6 separate regions of the Homo sapiens genome follow, and all the other regions are linked to region 1. Evidence: promoter capture Hi-C in human tissues and cell types (Jung and others, 2019). All regions are on one chromosome and are shown on one strand. The core of a region is centred on a gene start or on the middle of the fragment in contact, and the rest is flanking DNA. Distances in the headings are between cores, read along the strand shown. Region 1 holds the start of ZNF704 (zinc finger protein 704). Region 2 overlaps ZNF704 (zinc finger protein 704). Region 3 overlaps ZNF704 (zinc finger protein 704). Region 4 overlaps ZNF704 (zinc finger protein 704). Region 5 has its middle 11 kb from the start of PAG1. Region 6 overlaps ZNF704 (zinc finger protein 704).

What was found. The method cuts DNA at HindIII sites, captures the fragments that hold promoters and counts their contacts. A contact is called where the count stands out against the background at its distance.
Region 2: a contact is called between a fragment that was not itself captured here and the fragment with the promoter of ZNF704 in region 1, in 2 of the 25 tissues and cell types used here (dorsolateral prefrontal cortex and hippocampus).
Region 3: a fragment that was not itself captured here is called in contact with the fragment with the promoter of ZNF704 in region 1 in 2 of the 25 tissues and cell types used here (dorsolateral prefrontal cortex and thymus).
Region 4: a contact is called between a fragment that was not itself captured here and the fragment with the promoter of ZNF704 in region 1, in 1 of the 25 tissues and cell types used here (neural progenitor cells).
Region 5: a fragment that was not itself captured here is called in contact with the fragment with the promoter of ZNF704 in region 1 in 1 of the 25 tissues and cell types used here (spleen).
Region 6: a fragment that was not itself captured here is called in contact with the fragment with the promoter of ZNF704 in region 1 in 3 of the 25 tissues and cell types used here (dorsolateral prefrontal cortex, heart right ventricle and hippocampus).

The regions. Positions count from the first base shown.
Region 1 is chr8:80,873,347-80,876,046 of GRCh38, reverse strand. It overlaps ZNF704 (zinc finger protein 704), which reads left to right and starts at 1,266. Exons shown (of 9, transcript NM_001033723.3): 1 at 1,266-1,476. RefSeq lists a silencer at 2,387-2,587. The HindIII fragment of the contact is 4,011 bases long and covers 1-2,700 here.
Region 2 is chr8:80,722,897-80,725,596 of GRCh38, reverse strand. All of the region lies in intron 2 of ZNF704 (zinc finger protein 704), which reads left to right. Among named protein-coding and RNA genes, the nearest start is that of ZNF704, 150 kb to the left of the region's middle. The HindIII fragment of the contact is 8,276 bases long and covers 1-2,700 here.
Region 3 is chr8:80,633,660-80,636,359 of GRCh38, reverse strand. It overlaps ZNF704 (zinc finger protein 704), which reads left to right. Exons shown (of 9, transcript NM_001033723.3): 9 at 1-2,700. Among named protein-coding and RNA genes, the nearest start is that of LINC02986, 95 kb to the right of the region's middle. The HindIII fragment of the contact is 4,995 bases long and covers 1-2,700 here.
Region 4 is chr8:80,739,714-80,742,413 of GRCh38, reverse strand. All of the region lies in intron 2 of ZNF704 (zinc finger protein 704), which reads left to right. Among named protein-coding and RNA genes, the nearest start is that of ZNF704, 130 kb to the left of the region's middle. The HindIII fragment of the contact is 4,616 bases long and covers 1-2,700 here.
Region 5 is chr8:81,121,985-81,124,684 of GRCh38, reverse strand. No RefSeq gene overlaps it. Among named protein-coding and RNA genes, the nearest start is that of PAG1, 11 kb to the right of the region's middle. The HindIII fragment of the contact is 6,141 bases long and covers 1-2,700 here.
Region 6 is chr8:80,655,397-80,658,096 of GRCh38, reverse strand. All of the region lies in intron 7 of ZNF704 (zinc finger protein 704), which reads left to right. Among named protein-coding and RNA genes, the nearest start is that of LINC02986, 120 kb to the right of the region's middle. The HindIII fragment of the contact is 3,193 bases long and covers 1-2,700 here.

The sequences.
Region 1 (2,700 bases), core at 17-2,516:
GTGGATTCAAAATGCATTTTAGAAAGAACAATGGGTTGGACTTGTGGGCAATTGCCTCTAGGGATAAGGTAGAGAAGGGAGTTAAAATGATACCGCTATTTTGGGCTCAAATGATTATAATGAGAGTTTCATCACCTGAAATAGGTACATCAGGAAGCTAATCTGATTCAGGGAGAACAAAAAGTTCATTTTAGAATCTTTGTCATCATCCCTGTTCAACAGTTGGAAGCCACCATAAGTGAGCATTTAATGAGCCCCATTCAAGTGTCTAACAGAGCATATGATGTTAAATGTCCAACAATAATTAACTGAAGGTGAATACACCTTTTATTCTGGCCCCACGGAGGTGCCTACCAGGGTATTTGATGCGTAAGATCCTCCCCAGCCCTCCTCTACAGGGATGGAATTGGGGGTATGATTTGAATGTAAGAAATACGACTTAAGGCCGGGCACGGTGGCTCACACCTGTAATCCCAGCACTTTGGGAGGCCAAGGCAGGCAAATCATCTGAGGTCAGGAGTTTGAGACCAGCCTGGCCAACATGGTGAAACCCTGTCTCTACGAAAAATACAAAATTAGCATGGCATGGTGGAGCGCGCCTTTAATCCCAGGTACTCAGGAGGCTGAGGCAGGAGAATCGCTTGAACCCAGGTGGCGGAGGTTACAGTGAGCCCAGACCATGACATTGCACTCCAGCCTTGGCAACAAGAGCGAAACTCCATCTGAAAAATAAAGAAATATATATAAATAAAAATTAAAATAAATAAAAGAAGAAATACCACTTACTACATAGCCTAACCCCACGCAATAGCAAATATATTTTCTTTATCACACCTAAAAATCGTCAGAAAATGGCAAAATTAGTCATGTTATGTGCTTGATTTCCAGATTTGGTCTTACTTCATATTAATTTCTTAAGTAACCAACTCAAACGATCTTGAACTCCCACCCATTTGTTTCTTCAAAGTCCTGAACAATGCCAGAAGAGAGTCTACAGATCAGACAGTGCAAACAGAAAGCTTCTTGGAATTCAGCCATTAAAATCAGGCACTCAAGGTAGAATAGCAGGAGTAAAAGCTGAAAGACCTACACACTCAGCACAGAGCCAAGGCAGCTCAATCGCAGGGCCTAGAGTGGTGCGTTCAAAGAGTGTGAGATTGGTAGACAATCGCTCATGAAACAGTGTTTCGAAAATCTAAGCGACTCTGATGATTCATATTAGGAATTCATCCCAAACCTCAGATTGGTACACCTTCCTTGATTTCACACAAGCTCAGGAGTAGCTGCCATGCACATCAGTGTCCATTAAAATGACTTGTAGCAAATCTCTACGTTCAAAGTCTAACTTTGACAGACAACCTTACTTCCAGCGAAGTCTACTCCCCTCCCTCCGGAGGGAAGAATGGGCTGCGGTTAAGCGTTTGCCCTGGTGTCAGGGCCAACTGCTTCGAAGCGCCAGACTTTCGGAGACTGTGGGTAAGAGAAAAAAAAAATCCAGTCCGGGTTTTGTCTGAGCGGGGGGACCGGAGGGTTGTGAGGAATGGCTCGCGAAGAGGGGGGCGGTGGTGGAAAACATACAACACAAACAGCTCGCGCCGAGGCACGGCAGCGGTAGGCCCGGAGCGCGCGGGCGCAGCCGGCCGGGAGAGGCGCGCGCGGGCTCGGCCGCCGGCCGCATGGAGCGCAGCGCGGCCCGCGGCTCCCGGGCGGCGGCGGCGGCGGCGGAGGCGGCAGCGCGCCGCTCGCTCACACCCACCCCCGCCCGCGGCCGCCGCGCCGCCCCGCCGTAGCCGCCGGCCGCCGGCGTCCCCGCCGGCCGGTCCAGCGAAGGCGGCGCCCGCGCCTCTGCAGCCAGTGGCAGCCGCGGGTCCTGGCCGGCGGCTCCTGCAGCCCCTTGCGGCCGCGAGTCCCCGGCCCTGCGGCCACCGGCGGAGGCAGAGGAGGAAGAGGAGGTGACAAACTCTCCGGCCCCGCGCCGCGGCCCGCAACCCCGCGCTCAGGCATGCAGGCGCGGCGTCTAGCCAAGCGCTCCAGCCTGGGCAGCCGCCGGGGGGGCGCCGCGCTGCAGCCTGCCGGGCCGGCGCCCGCGCCCGCCAAGGAAGCCGCCCTACCCGGGCTCCCGCCCCCTGTCCCGGGCCCGGCCCCGGCGCCCGCCCCGGAGAGCTGGAGGCCGCCGCTGCCGCCGCCGCCGCGCAGCGCCGGGACCGGCCCCCCTCGGGCCACCGGGGCCGCCGCCGCCGCCTCGTCGCCGGTGCTGCTGCTTCTAGGGGAGGAAGACGAGGACGAGGAGGGCGGGAGCAGGCGGCGGAGGGGGCTCGGGCGTGTGGAGGAGAAGCCCCGAGGGGGCGCGGAGGAGGAGGATGACGACGAGGAAGAGGAGGACGAGGAGGTGGTCGTCGAGGTGGTGGACGGCGACGAAGACGACGAGGACGGCGAGGAGCGTTTCGTGCCCCTCGGACCCGGCCACGCAGTCCCCAGGGGCCCGGCCCGGGGCGCGTTGAAGGTGCGTGTTGGGCGCGGTGGCGCGCGTGGGACCCGCCAGCCCGGGGAGGGGGACGGGCCCGGGCCCCGGGGCAAGGCGCCTGGCCGAGGACGGTCAGCGGCGCCGGGGAGAGACCCGGCCAGGAGGGGTGTGTCAGGCGGCGCGGGCGGCCGCGCGGGGCAGCGCGAGGAACTGTTGATTTGCCTGCGCCTTGGGCC
Region 2 (2,700 bases), core at 38-2,537, 150 kb after region 1:
GCCCTCATTACTTTTCCAGCATCGTCTCCCATAACTTCCTCTTTTCCCCATCCCCTATGTATCTGAGACTCCAAATGCATTAGACAATTTGGCATAATCTTTGTGTTTTCGTGTCCATGTTCTTCTTGTTCTTAATTCCATATACGTGATGTAGGGCTGCTGTATTAAGTAAATAAAAATACAGGAGGCCCACTGAAAATTGAATTTAACATAAACTAAAAATCTATGGTCATTGTTTATGTTCCAATATTGTATGGGATATACTTATACAAAAATTTTGTTTGTTATTTATCTGAGATGAAAATTTAATTGGAAGTCCTGGGTTTTATCTGACAATTTAACCTAAGGAAACCCTTCAAGGACTGGCCTTTTTTCCAGAAAGCCTTCCCCACTATACTCCTTCTGCCCTCCTACCACAGTACTTTGCTGGAACCTCTAATAAAATATTTAAGTGCCCTAACATTTCATAGTGATATGTATGTGTCTCCCTACCACTTTGTAACACAAACACTATGTCTTATTCTTCAAGTCCTAGGATTTAGCATTTGCACTTTGGTGAAGGGGTAGGAGGTGTTGCTCTAAAAGTAGATAGAGAGTAGGTCATAAACACTTTATAAACCACACTTAGAAATCTGCCTTTAAATGATAAACAGTGGAGAGCCACTGGAAATTGTTCAGACCTGGAATGGCATGATTTTATTTAACTTCTGAAGAGACTGCTTGAACGGCATTGTGGGGCGCAGAATGAATGGAGCAGAGACTAGGGCAGGGAAATCAGTTAAGGGGTTATCGTTTTGAGGGGAAGGACTCGGCAGAGAGACAATGAGTGCCTGAATTAGGCAGTGGTGGTGAAAAATCAGAATGGAGAAGGATTTTAGGGATTTGTTGAAGTAAAATCAGTAGAACTTGGGTTCAGTCGGGTATAAGGAGGAAAGAAGGGGAACGAAGCCTGACAACTCCTAAGTTTCTGGCTTCTACAACCATTTAGTGAAGGTTTCATTAATGGCAGGCAGGAGTACAGTTTTAGAAGGTCTGGACTGGAGAGACATTTGGGGGAATCATCCGTGAGTATCGAGAGTTAAAGACATGCCAGGAATAGTGTATACAATTAAAATAGACAGGGGCTTGGGAAATGCCAGTTCGCAGATATATATTTGTCATAAGTGAACTAAAGAAAAGGTATATGGTTGGATGAGCTTAAACCCAGCATGAGCTTTAAAGAAGAAACTTTGAGTTATTAACATGACCTTGCTGTTCTGCATCCAGAATGTTTTTATAGATAGGAAGAGTCATGGGTTTTATTTGATTTATTATTGACACCATCTTTGACTCCCTAAAGGAGTATCACTTAACCTCTGTCAAACTACCTCCTACATATTTCATCAGAATTTGTTAAAGACTAATTGAATATAATGGAGAAAGTACTTTGAATTGCATAGAAGAAAAAATATCACAAAAGTCCCAGCATCACCAGATAATTATTGATGATGACATACTATGAAAAAGTAATCCCATCTAAGAATCTTCAAAACAACACCATTTTTGTATACATTACTTGCGTAAATATAATACAGTTCCACCTAAAAGGCTTGTAATGGTTTTAGAAAGTGTAAAAGCTGATGAGAATCAGTGTGAGCCACCACCAAATAGCATTTCCCTCATTAACAACTAACTAATAGTGCTAAAGGTCATTTGAAATGTTGGAACAGTTGAACATCTATCAGTCGGCTCCCTGGATTAACCAGTGTTTTCCATTCTGTTGCCCAAAATTAACAGCTGACAGGCTGTTCTAGATTGGTGGTCTTCAAACTTTTTGCTCATGAATCCTCTGCAAGGATTTTGAAAACCATGTACCCTCTCGCATTTTAAAGTTGACATCTTAGATTTTTACATTTTAGGTCTAAATAGTTGAAAAGGATGTAATATTGATATTTTAACTAAAAAAATATAGTATTACTTTTAAGGTTATCCAGTGGAATCTAAATACCATAGAGATTTGATTCTCACCATCATCCATTTTTAAAAATACACAAATAAGCTCTTTTTTAACTGGCAGAAATTTTACTTGTTTCTTTTTGTTTTAACTCATTTTCCATTTCACTTTCTCCGCAGAACTTTATCCTATTTATGATTTCAATGTTTTTTTACCAATCACATACTTCTCTAAAACACATTTGTAAATTTCAGTTAAAATACTTTGCATTTCCTTTGACTATATAATCCTGACGGTTTAACGTTTTTTTCTGGTATGAGTTATACTTACAGTTACTAGTAGTGGATATTTGATCAACACAACATGTATTAATTAAAAGTCTGATGAAGAAGTGAATACAAAAAATAAAATTGTCTTAAAACCATGACTTAATGAGATTGAGGAGCTTTTAAAATTCATTTATCTTTTGATAAATATTATATATTACTGGAATGACACTATTCAGCTTTAATTTTATTCCCTTTTTAATGGGAAGAAAACTTTGTAGTTTTGTTATTAGTATCATTCAGTTATTTGAACTGGTTTCACAAGAGCATGTCAAATATGACATAGTACTGTATCTTCAAATATTATTTCTAGGTTATCTTTCAATTTTCTTGAAACCAAAGAATTGGAAACCACATGCAAAAGAATTGTTTTTATTCGATACTTAGGGTCATTCACTGTTTGCTACACCAACACTGATCTTCCTAATTGACACCTTGATT
Region 3 (2,700 bases), core at 40-2,539, 240 kb after region 1:
TATATCTATCGTAGGACCAGGAACCAAAATGGGAATTTTACTTCTGGTCCTGTTTTGTAAATAGTTCCTTTTTTTGAAGACAATCTCATGTTTTATAACTTTTGTTGTGGGTCTGAGAATCACAATGGTAATATGTCTTGGCAAAACATAACCTTTAAATACAAAAACAATTATAACTTAATTTTCCAAATAAAACAAGAAATACACTGATTAGGCTTCTACAGTTCTAAGAGACATGACACTTTGGTAATAAGCGTCAGTACTCTACTTCTCAAGTTAACTGGAAATATTTTACAAGATGCAGTGTTTTGTAATCACAAAGAACGCAGACATTTTGTGAGAAATGACCTTGGTTTTATACATTGTAGCTTATTTTTTAAAATATAGTATTTTACCAGGCAGGAAGTATTAATATTATAAGTAATTCTTGCTCACCAAACAAAGGGCTATGTCTCTTTTAAGCAAATGTTTTGATGCATATCTTTTTAATTAACCCTCTGCAGCAAGGGTAGAAATACAGATCAGATGGAATGGGTATTATAGGAGAATCAAGATAGCAACAGCTACTCCTTTTACCATTACTAGTGTGTTTTCAAAGTATGGAAAAAGATGCCTGAAGAGTCATTTTATATATTTTAAATCTAAAAAGTGTTAACAGGTATGCTTATAGGCCATGGGAGAAATATTCTTATAAATTTTTTAGTGTAAAATGATAAATTCTGTGTCACAAAGACAAGTTTACCACTTGACCTACCAGAATCACAGATACTTGCATTTAACTAGCAAGTATCATTTGGTGGAAATTTCTAAAATCATAGTAGACAGGCCCAAAGATAGAATTCTTAGGTGATCAGTAGTGTTTAAAATAATTTTGTCCTCAGCACTAACTATATAACTGTAATTTCTACATAAGAACAAGTGCTTCCAAAATATAGTGGAGGGAAAAAATAAAAAAGGAAAATAAAAAAACAAAACAAAAAGAACAAGTGCTTGATTTTTCACTGTGAAGAACTAGCAGGCACATGAGGTTGTGATCAGAAAGTGACTGAGTTCCCAAGAACCAGGAAACAGAGGGGAGTTGTGAAGAGTTTATTAAAACTGTACAAATAATTCAGAGCTTTGCCAAAACCATTTCATAATGCTGTACAGTTTTTTCAAGCCCACTCACTGTTAAAACAAGAAAGCACCTTTTCTTTCTAAGATTTTAGTAATCCAAAAGCTAGCCTAATTAGCCAAGTATGCAGATAACATCAAAAGCAAAGCTGAGATAGAACAGCCATACACCCGTTGGGCAGCTCTTATGAGGTGGTCAGAAGGTCACTCAGACCTTGGTTTCAAATAGGCTTTAGAATCTGCACACTTGAGGACTAGAAATGCACAGAGTTAGGGAAAGCCATGTACAGGCTTGGCTCCTAGTCTTTGAGATGAGGCGTCTTGCAAATCTCTGTTTTCACTCCTTGGAATGTCTCCATTGTTAGCATTAAAGTCCCCAAGAAGTTTTTATTGCTGTACGGTTTTGAACCCAATGAGTCTCATTTCCAAAAGATTCCTAATTCTATATAGGAGAGGTTGCAAATGTCAGTGCCTCAGAAGGACCAGGCAAGTTCTGTAAATGATTGATGTGGATAAGGCAAAGAGGAACACAAGAATGGTGGAGACCAGGTTGAACTGCAGAACACATGCCCTCTTTGAAGGGGTGCCCACACTCAGCTCTAGACAATCAGAACCATGCAGAAATCAGGCCCAGGGCTGCTAGATCTTCTGACGTGGAAGTATGATATTACCTGACACGTAAGTGTTGACAACTAACTCAAACTCTTGGCCAACACTGTGCAGACCAAAGAGAAGCTGTACACAGACAGGTGCAGCCTGCAGCCCCCAGTTTCAACTATTGGGAAAAGTGGATTTCACATTCCACAGTTGTCAGGTCAGGTTCATCCATCAGCCCCACAAACTCACATGTCGGCACTATCTGGGCAACTAAAATAAAAGAGGGGAAAGAGATCATTTCTCCCCAGATATCATTCTCATGGCAGACTTGAATATAGATACGCTGAGTTATCCAGCTCTCTCACTCTGCCTCCTTTTGGCATGCCCAGGCTGTGCCCCGTAAAGTGTTGAATCACTGTTATCCTAATTTTCTTAGTGTTTTCTACCGTGGCCACTGTGATGAGGGGCTGGCAAAGAGCAGCCTCGTGCCTTCCGAGAAGGCTGCCAGGAGCCTCTGAAGCTTGAAGCGAGCACACATTGCCTCCTTGTGCCAAAGCCCTTGGCCAGCCTCCCCACACTCCTTCCCTCTCCATCCGGCCTCATGAGTCTTCGTTACCAAGTAAAATTACCACTGCTTCACCTCTGATACAGCAGAAGCCTTGCTTCAGAACTGGTAGGCATTTAGGCTATTTCAGAGTGTCCACTAACCTCAAAAGGAGGTTTTTCCACATACAAAACCCTAGCATCTTTGAGGGGAAAGCAAAATGAGAATAAATTATGTCATGAAAAAAATTAGAAGTTGCTTCCTTCATTTAGATGGACTAAGTTATTTTAAACTCTATCTTACATCAGAGTCCTGATGGTGTTGGGATAGTCACTGACCCTTTCACGTATGTAATAAGATACGTCTCGTTCACACACTATTTCATTTGATCTTTGTAAGAACCCAGTGTAGAATAGGAATATTTAAAATCAACATTACCCACCTCC
Region 4 (2,700 bases), core at 159-2,658, 130 kb after region 1:
GAAGGGTTTTAAGTAATTTCCATTGGTTAGCTGCAGGCAAAAGTATTTTTCCTTCTTTCGTGGCTAGCCATCCTGAGGGGAGGAAACTATGTCCTCGTGAGGTTCCCCATTCGATTTCTTCTGCTGAGTATTGGGGCTTGGTTTCCTGGAGGGGGTTACCCCATAAGAGGGGTCCTTCTATAAGCATTTCTAATGGAGGGTCCCGCCTTGCAGCTCTTTTGGCTTCAATATCCGCTTGGCGGTTCCCTTCTATTTCCCTTTCCTTTCCTTTCTGATGACCCCGGCAGTGTAAGACTGCCACCTCTTTAGGTTTCTGTAGAGCCAATAATAATCTCCTAATGGCTTCCTGATGTTTGATAGGTGTTCTCGGAAGTTAGAAATTCCCTTTCTCTCCATATTGCTGTGTGGGCATGGAGGACTAGGTAAGCATACTTAGAGTCTGTATATATATTTACCATTTTTCCTTTTCCTAATTCTGATGCCCGAGTGAGGGCTATTAGTTTTGCCAGCTGAATGCTAGTTCTTGGAGTGAGGGGATTACTTTCAAGTATTCTATTATCACTGACCACTGCATACTCCACTTTTTGAAGTCCTTTTTTCACAAAGGAACTTCCATCAGTATACAAGTTGAGGTTGGGATCAGTCAAGGGAACCTCTAGAAGGTCCCCTCGAGCGGCGTAGGTTTGAGCAATCACCTGTTGACAGTTATGTTCTATCTTTTCTTCATTGTCTGGAAGAAACGTGGCTGGGTTAAGAGTTGCACAAGTGCGCAGTCGCAGCACTGGCCCTTCAAATAAGAGCCTGATATTTAAGCTAATGGTTGTCTGACAGCCACAAGTCTCCTTTAGCAGTGAGTATGCTGTTCACATCATGAGATGTCCACACACATAAGATCTCTTCCTTGTATTATTTTAACTGCTTCGGAGGCTAAGACTGCTACTGCTGCCACTACCTGTAAACAATGAGGCCAACCCTTTGCCACTACATCAATTTTCTTACTCAAGTATGCCACAGGTTGCAAGCTGGTCCCTCAGACCTGTGTAAGGACTCCTAGAGCTATTCCTATTTTTTTTCTGTGACATATAAAGAAAAGTCTTGCCCCGTTGGCAAGCTTAACACTGGGGCTTGGGTTAGGGCCTTCCTTAGGGCCTGGAAAGCCGCTTCTGCTTCAGGTGTCCATCTTACTAAATGGGTATTGGCTTTCTGAGTTTCCTTAATTAGTGTATTTAATGGCCTGACTATTTTGCCATACCTGGGAATCCATATTCGGCAGAAGCCTGTTATGCCAAGGAGCCCTCTTAGTTGCTTTAGGGTTTTGGGATGAGGATAAGCCAGTATATGCTGGATACATTCCTCACTGAGGGCCCTAGTGCCTTTGGATAATTTTAGCCTTAAGTATTTAACCTGCTGTAAGCAGAGCTGAGCCTTTGGTTTGGAAACCTTGTAGCCACAAGTGGCAAGGAAGTTTAAAAGCGCTTGGGTGGCTTGATGGAGCAAGGTTTCTGAATGGGCGGCTAGAAGTAAATCATCCACGTACCAAAGGACAAGAGTGTCCAAGTATGAGAACTGGCTAAAGTCTTGGGCTAATGCCTGGCCAAATAGATGGGGGCTATCCCTGAACCCTTGGGATAAGACAGTCCAGGTGAGTTGAGACGTTGGGTTTGAAGGATCTTCAAAGGCAAAGAAGAATTGAGAGTTGGGATGTACAGGGATGCAGAAAAAGGCATCCTTAAGGTCCATGACTGTAAACCACTCTGGTTCCTCTGGTATTTGGGAAAGCAGAGTACAAGGGTTAGGTACAGCTGGGTATAGAGGGATAAGAGCCTCATTGATAATCCTGAGATCTTGCACTGACCTCCACTGTCTGTTGGGTTTCTGTACTCCTAAAATTGGAGTATTGCAGGAGCTATTGCATGGTTTTACTAGGCCTTGGGCTTTTAGGTCCTTAACAATTTTTTGGAGTCCTTGTTGGGCCTTGGGTCTAAGAGGGTACTGCCTTTGGTAGGGAAAGGAGGCAGAATCCTTTAGTTTAATTTGAACAGGACAGGCATTCTTTGTTCGTCCATATTGTCCTTCTGTTGCCCAGACTTCAGGATGGATTAATTCCTTCCTCAAGCAGGGGACAACAAATGGATGTTCTTTCTCCTATGTTCAGGTGTATAATGGCCCCTGCTTTTGCTAGAATGTCTCTCCCTAACAAGGGAGTGGGGCTTTCAGGCATAATTAGAAAAGTATATGAAAAGAATAAAGTTCCCCAGTCACAGCTTAGTGGCTGGGAGAAGTATCTAGTGACTGCCTGTCCTAGGACCCTTTGGATAGTGACAGATCTGGAGGACAGTTGTCTGGGACAGGAGAGTAAAACTGAGAAGGTCGTGCCAGCATCCAGGAGACAGTTAACCTCCTGACCCTCAATGGTCAAGCATACCCGGGGTTCTGTGAGGGTGATGGCATGGGCTGGCACTTGGCCCGGGCACCCTCAGTCCTGCTGCTGGATCATCTGGTTAGTGGCTTCTGACTCGGAGGACTTTCATCCCCTGGGGCAGTGGGCCTTCCAGTGATTCCCTTGACATAAGGGACATGGACGAGGGGGCGGCTTATTTCTATTTGGACAATCTTTTTTAAAGTGTCCTTGTAGACCGCACTGGAAGCAAGCCCTATTAGCATTCAGTTTGCCCAGCTCTTCCCTTTTCCAGAGCCTAA
Region 5 (2,700 bases), core at 156-2,655, 250 kb before region 1:
AGACACAAGATGGAGTTAGGTAGATGTAGGCCACAGTATAGCATTTATCACCAATAAAGATGTTACGGTAGGATGTGACAACACATCTGTGGGCAAGCCGGCATGTCAGCACAGCACCATAGAGATAGGCTGGCTCCTCTTCTCTGCTGCAGGGAGCACTGCACCAAGCCACGTCTCCCTCTTCAGGAGCAGACCCAGCTCTGTAATGCAAACAGGAGAGAAGGAGCAGTGTAGAAATGAGAAGAAGAGGATGCAGGCTGTACATGCCCTGTTTCTTCTTTCAACCCAGCCTATTGGTTTGAGTCACCCTCTCTGGGTAGGAACGAGTAAGCAGGAGAAGAGGCTCCATGCATTTTATGCTAGTCAATACCCTTTTACGTGGAAGAAAATATCAAGTGTGGAAAAGAAAGGCTTCTTCTCTTTTTGCTTACCATTGAAAAATACATTTTATTTATTTATTTTACTCCTATACATGTTGCTGCCTCTTACAGAAATTTGGATTTTGAGATAGCAGGCAACTTGTACAATCCTTGGCCATCTTCACAAAAGACCTCACACAAACCATGCATGAGTAGAAACACATCTTCCACCAAAAGCATATGGTGATTTCTGTGGGTTGTGAGTTAAAAGAGGGCTTAATGAAAAATTTTTGTTTGGTGTCTAGATTTTAAATCCTTATGCCGTTTACGATGCATATTGCAATCTGAAATCTTGCTTAGTTATGTTGAAAATGGTGGAAGGAAATTAATTTAGTCCATGATCCCATATACAGTTTTAAATTCTCATAGTATATATTCTTCTTGCTGATATCCCTATATTCTTTCTTTTCAGTAATGTATTTTCGAAAGCATTCTTTGAATACTTTTAAGAACATTTACAAGTACAATCAATGATCCAAATCTCATGAGAAAAGTATTATCGAGCCTATTTTACAAATGAGAAAATTAAGGTTAAAATAATAATTTGTCTAAGGTGATACACAGTTATGAAACAGAAAATGATATTTGAACCCAGGTCTTCCCAATTCACATAGGGTGTTCCATCATGGTTACTTATACTGTTGCCCGCCATCCTAGATAAAAATTCCTTGTGGTTGTGAGCGTGGCTTCTATTTATTCATTTCTTTTTCTGTCCACAGCAAAGAACATAATGCTCTGCATTGAGCAGGTATTCAGTAAATGTTTGTTAAGTTTAAGTAAATACACTATCCATTGTGCAATTCTAGATATGGAAAATGCATAGAAATGTTCCAGTTGGAGTCTGGCATTTTGTAAGTTAGGAAATTAAAGCCCAAAGAAAATCTCGAGTTTATGTAGCTAGGAGAGTACCAGAATCTAAGCAGAAGTATAACTCCATCTACGCAGACTTTTGGCCCTTCCTGCTACCATTTCCCCTTCATCTTGGGAATCATGAGAGTGGCAAATGGCTTGGCATGGATCACAGTGGCTCACTAAGAGGAAGAGTCAGCTGCTGCTTTTCCTGGGACAAACGGCCTGAAGGAGCAGAGGTCATTGCTGTGTCACAGAGTTGAAAAAACTGACAGGAAGGAGAACAACAATAATAAAATATTGTATTTATTTACTGGACAAGCAGAAGAAAATAGTGACTTAGTACATGACCTGGAGCCACATGGCCTGGTTAAAATGTATAGAAGTAATCTACTTATTAGCTGTGTGATCTTGGACAGGTTACTTGGCCTGTATGTGCCTCAGTTTCTTTATCTGTAAAATGAGAATGGGTGCATCTCCTCCTGCCTTTGTGAAAATTAAATGAGTTACAGATACAAAGTGCACAGGCAGCACCTGGCATAGGCAAAGTACTATATAGCGGTACTGATTTGAGCATTTCATAGGTTCCAGAGACTATGCCAGTGTTTAAAAACCATTAGGTTTATGATTAGCATACGTATTTCACATATTATTAAATACTAAATAAGATAAGCCATTGCTACATTTTAAAACAAGGACACTTGAGATATAGAAAGGGTGAGCAACTTAACAAAGATACTAGTGCCTGTCAGAGGAGGCATATAAACCTAGGGCACCTTCCCCCAGAGCCCACATGTTGACCACTGTGCAAAGGGCTGAATCTCACTATTAGCTTGCCTCCTTGTGAAAAAAGAAAAATGTGCTTTGGAGTTCTTATTGAAGCAGACACAGAACTCCCTAACCAAAGTCACTGTTTCCTAACCAAGCCTCCTTCAATTCTCCTGTGGCCCCAGAAGGGTGGTCCTAGAGTGGACCATATCATCCCTAATCTAGAAGAGTCCAGATTGGCTAACGAACTGTTCTGGAAATCAAGAAGTTTATAATTACTATAGGTGGATCTCAAAAAAGAACTGTTCTGGACTTCCCTGAAATTAAATGCCCTTGTAATAATCAAAGTCAGGCCAATCTCTGAGAGCTTTTCTTGAAAAGTCAAGTCTGTCTCTCAATCAAGAGCATACATGTACCAGAGCTTGTACGGAACAGATGCACATCAACATCTACCTGGTGTCTTTTGGGAAAAAGGCCCCATCCAGAGGTAGAACAGAAGGGCCATGACTATTTCACTTAACTGCGAAATGGCCACAAAAATCACCTGCTTTGTCTCAGAGACTGCGTCCCAACTGTGTGTAAACTTAAGACTCCAGGAAATAATTATTTCTGTCAGTGTTTGCCATTTAGATAAAGCTTCTTGGGAAATATGTTGAGAATCAGA
Region 6 (2,700 bases), core at 115-2,614, 220 kb after region 1:
CTAAATTATCTTCTGAAGTATAGGGAAATCACTCTGAGGGGCTCTTTACTAGCTCCATGTCCTCCATGGTTCTTATGTGTCTTACACACTAGGATACCAGCCAGGATACCTTATATCACTCGTTTTTCAACAATAGAATGTTAAAACTCTGCTATGGACACTGTGTATTTCTACCCTCATCTCAGTGCCCTTGATTTTTTACAGAATCCCTCATTTCACTCTGTGTTGATTACCTGGGACATTCTAGACAAAAGCTTTGACAGAAAGTATATATATGATATATAAAACATACCATATATACGATATATAAAACATTCCGTATATATGATATATAAAACATACCATAGCTGGGTTAAGTAGGTATTCCACTAAAATCCTATGTGAGCTTTTTTTTTTTTTTTTTCTTGAAACAGGGTCTCAGTCCATGACCCAGGCTTAGAGTGCAGTGGTGCCATCACGGCTCACTGCAGCCTCAACCTCCCTGGGCTCATCTTCCCCACTTCAGCCTCCTGAGTAGCTGGGACTACAGAAGCACACCATCACACCTGGCTAATTTTTGTATTTTTAGTAGATACGGGGGTTTCCCATGTTGCCCAGGCTGGTCTTGAACTCCTGAGCTCAAGCAATCTGCCCACCTCAGCCTCCCAAAGTGCTGGGATTACAGGCTTGAGCCACTGCGCCCAGCTGAGAGCTTCTAATTTATTCTTTCACCAGAGAATTCCCAATTGTGCTGATTGTGTAACCTGTTTCAGCAAAGACTTTAGACTGATTTTAGCAGTCAAGCTTGCCATTCCTATTTAAAGATAAAGTAAGGGTGGGGTGGAATTTTCAAAGGTTTTTGTTTTACCCTAGAAAGACAAGAAGGCTACAACTAAGAATGTTCTTTTTGTTGCTAAACTCTCTGGCCATGCTCTAAAAAAAACAAGCAGGTGCTGCTGTCCTCCTCCTCCTCCTTCTCCTGGTGGGCTAGCTCTCATAACAGCCCACCCACACAGATGCAGGACTGTTGTACACCCACGGACAGCATGCCAGCAGCTGTCCCTGAATGCTCCAGGAGTGCCAGGCAAGCCACGTAGAATTTAAAAACGTGAATTCTTACCCTCTAAATTGGTGTAATAGGGTTTTCAGACCAAAGCTCTAAAAGTTGTAAGTTATAATGAATTTGTATTAGTGATGGCTTCAATTGTGTCCAAACTGAAGAACAGAGAAATATTCATGTGATAAAATGCTTTTCAAAAAAAAAATACCTTTATCCTTGTACTCTAAAATAAATACCCTGAGGTTGTCAACCCTGTTTAGAGTTCACTTTTCTCCCACATCTTTGAGACGTGGTATTGAAGAGGGATACTTTTGTACACTTCCTAGAAAGTGAGAAAAACCCCTTTCTGAAAAATCCCAAGGGTTGCAGGATTTTATTTATTCATTTGCCTATGCTAGATTTCCTGAACATTGGACTTTAATAAGTTCCCTGGGTAAGACCTCTTCCCGGAGGTGTGTAGCTGAGAAGGCTGAACTGCATATTTAACAAATGTAACTGGAAGTTCAGTCTTTTGTAGCCTAAGGCTGTGGGGAGAGGGGTAGGAAAGAGAACATCCTTAATTACAACTTTCTTTGACATGTTTTTCCCTAATGACCTGCCTTCTCTCCTAATTATCTCCATTTCTTTCTCTCTCTTTTCATGACAGAAAACTAAGAGCCGTTGGCCCCTTTATTAATCAGCTCAAGACTGCCATAAAATACCACAGACTTGGCAGCTTAAACAACAGAAATTTATTTTCTCACAGTTCTAGAGGCTAGAAGTCCAAATCAACGTGTCGGCCAATTCAGTTCTGGTGAAGACCCCTTCCTGCTTGTAGATGGCTGCCTTCTCACTGTGCATGCACAGTCGAGAGAGAAAGAGAGAGAGAGAGAAATCGAGAGAGAGAGCACAAGCACATGCCAGGGCACTGGCAAGCCAGGGAGAGCAAGCATGGAGGAATGCACCAGCCTCTGCTATCCCTTCTTAAAGGACACTAATCCTGTTGGGTCAGGGCCCCACCCTTATGACCTCCTTAAAGGCCCTATGTCCAAATACAACCACACTGGGGATTAGAGCTTTATCATATGAATTTGAGGGACACAAACATTCGATCTATAACAGCCCCTAGGAAAGCAAGTATAAGCTAGTCAACCTGCTATCCAAGTTCTAGGAGGCTTCAGGCTGTTGGGGAGGGTCTCCAAAGCTGAAATAGCAGTGCTTATTTGTCAAATGCTTAGCTGGTTTGAGGTTTCTTTTTTAATGCCTTGAGGGAAGATTCAGAATTATATGAGGTTAAAACCAAGCCAGAGGCCTTTTTTTCCTCCCTCTTAAGAGAAAAACTTACAAGAAAAGAAATTTCTCCTGCATACTTACAGAAGGGCACAGCATCTTTAGTGTGAGGCTTACTTGCAAATCCTGGCTCTGGCATTTGTGAACGCCATGTGATCCTTCTAAAGTAATATCCTCTACTCTAGTTCTACCTCTTAGAGTTGTGTCGTTCACACAGTGCCTGGCATGTAGCTGACAATGCAGATTTCCTACCATCATTGCTGCCTTTACTGTGTCTAAGCACTGTATAATGGGTCAGAGAAAGCGGCTCCTCCCTATTTAGGATTGATTCCTGTAACACAGATATACTCAACACATGGGAGAGATTAGTCACAATTTTTACAGACTATAAT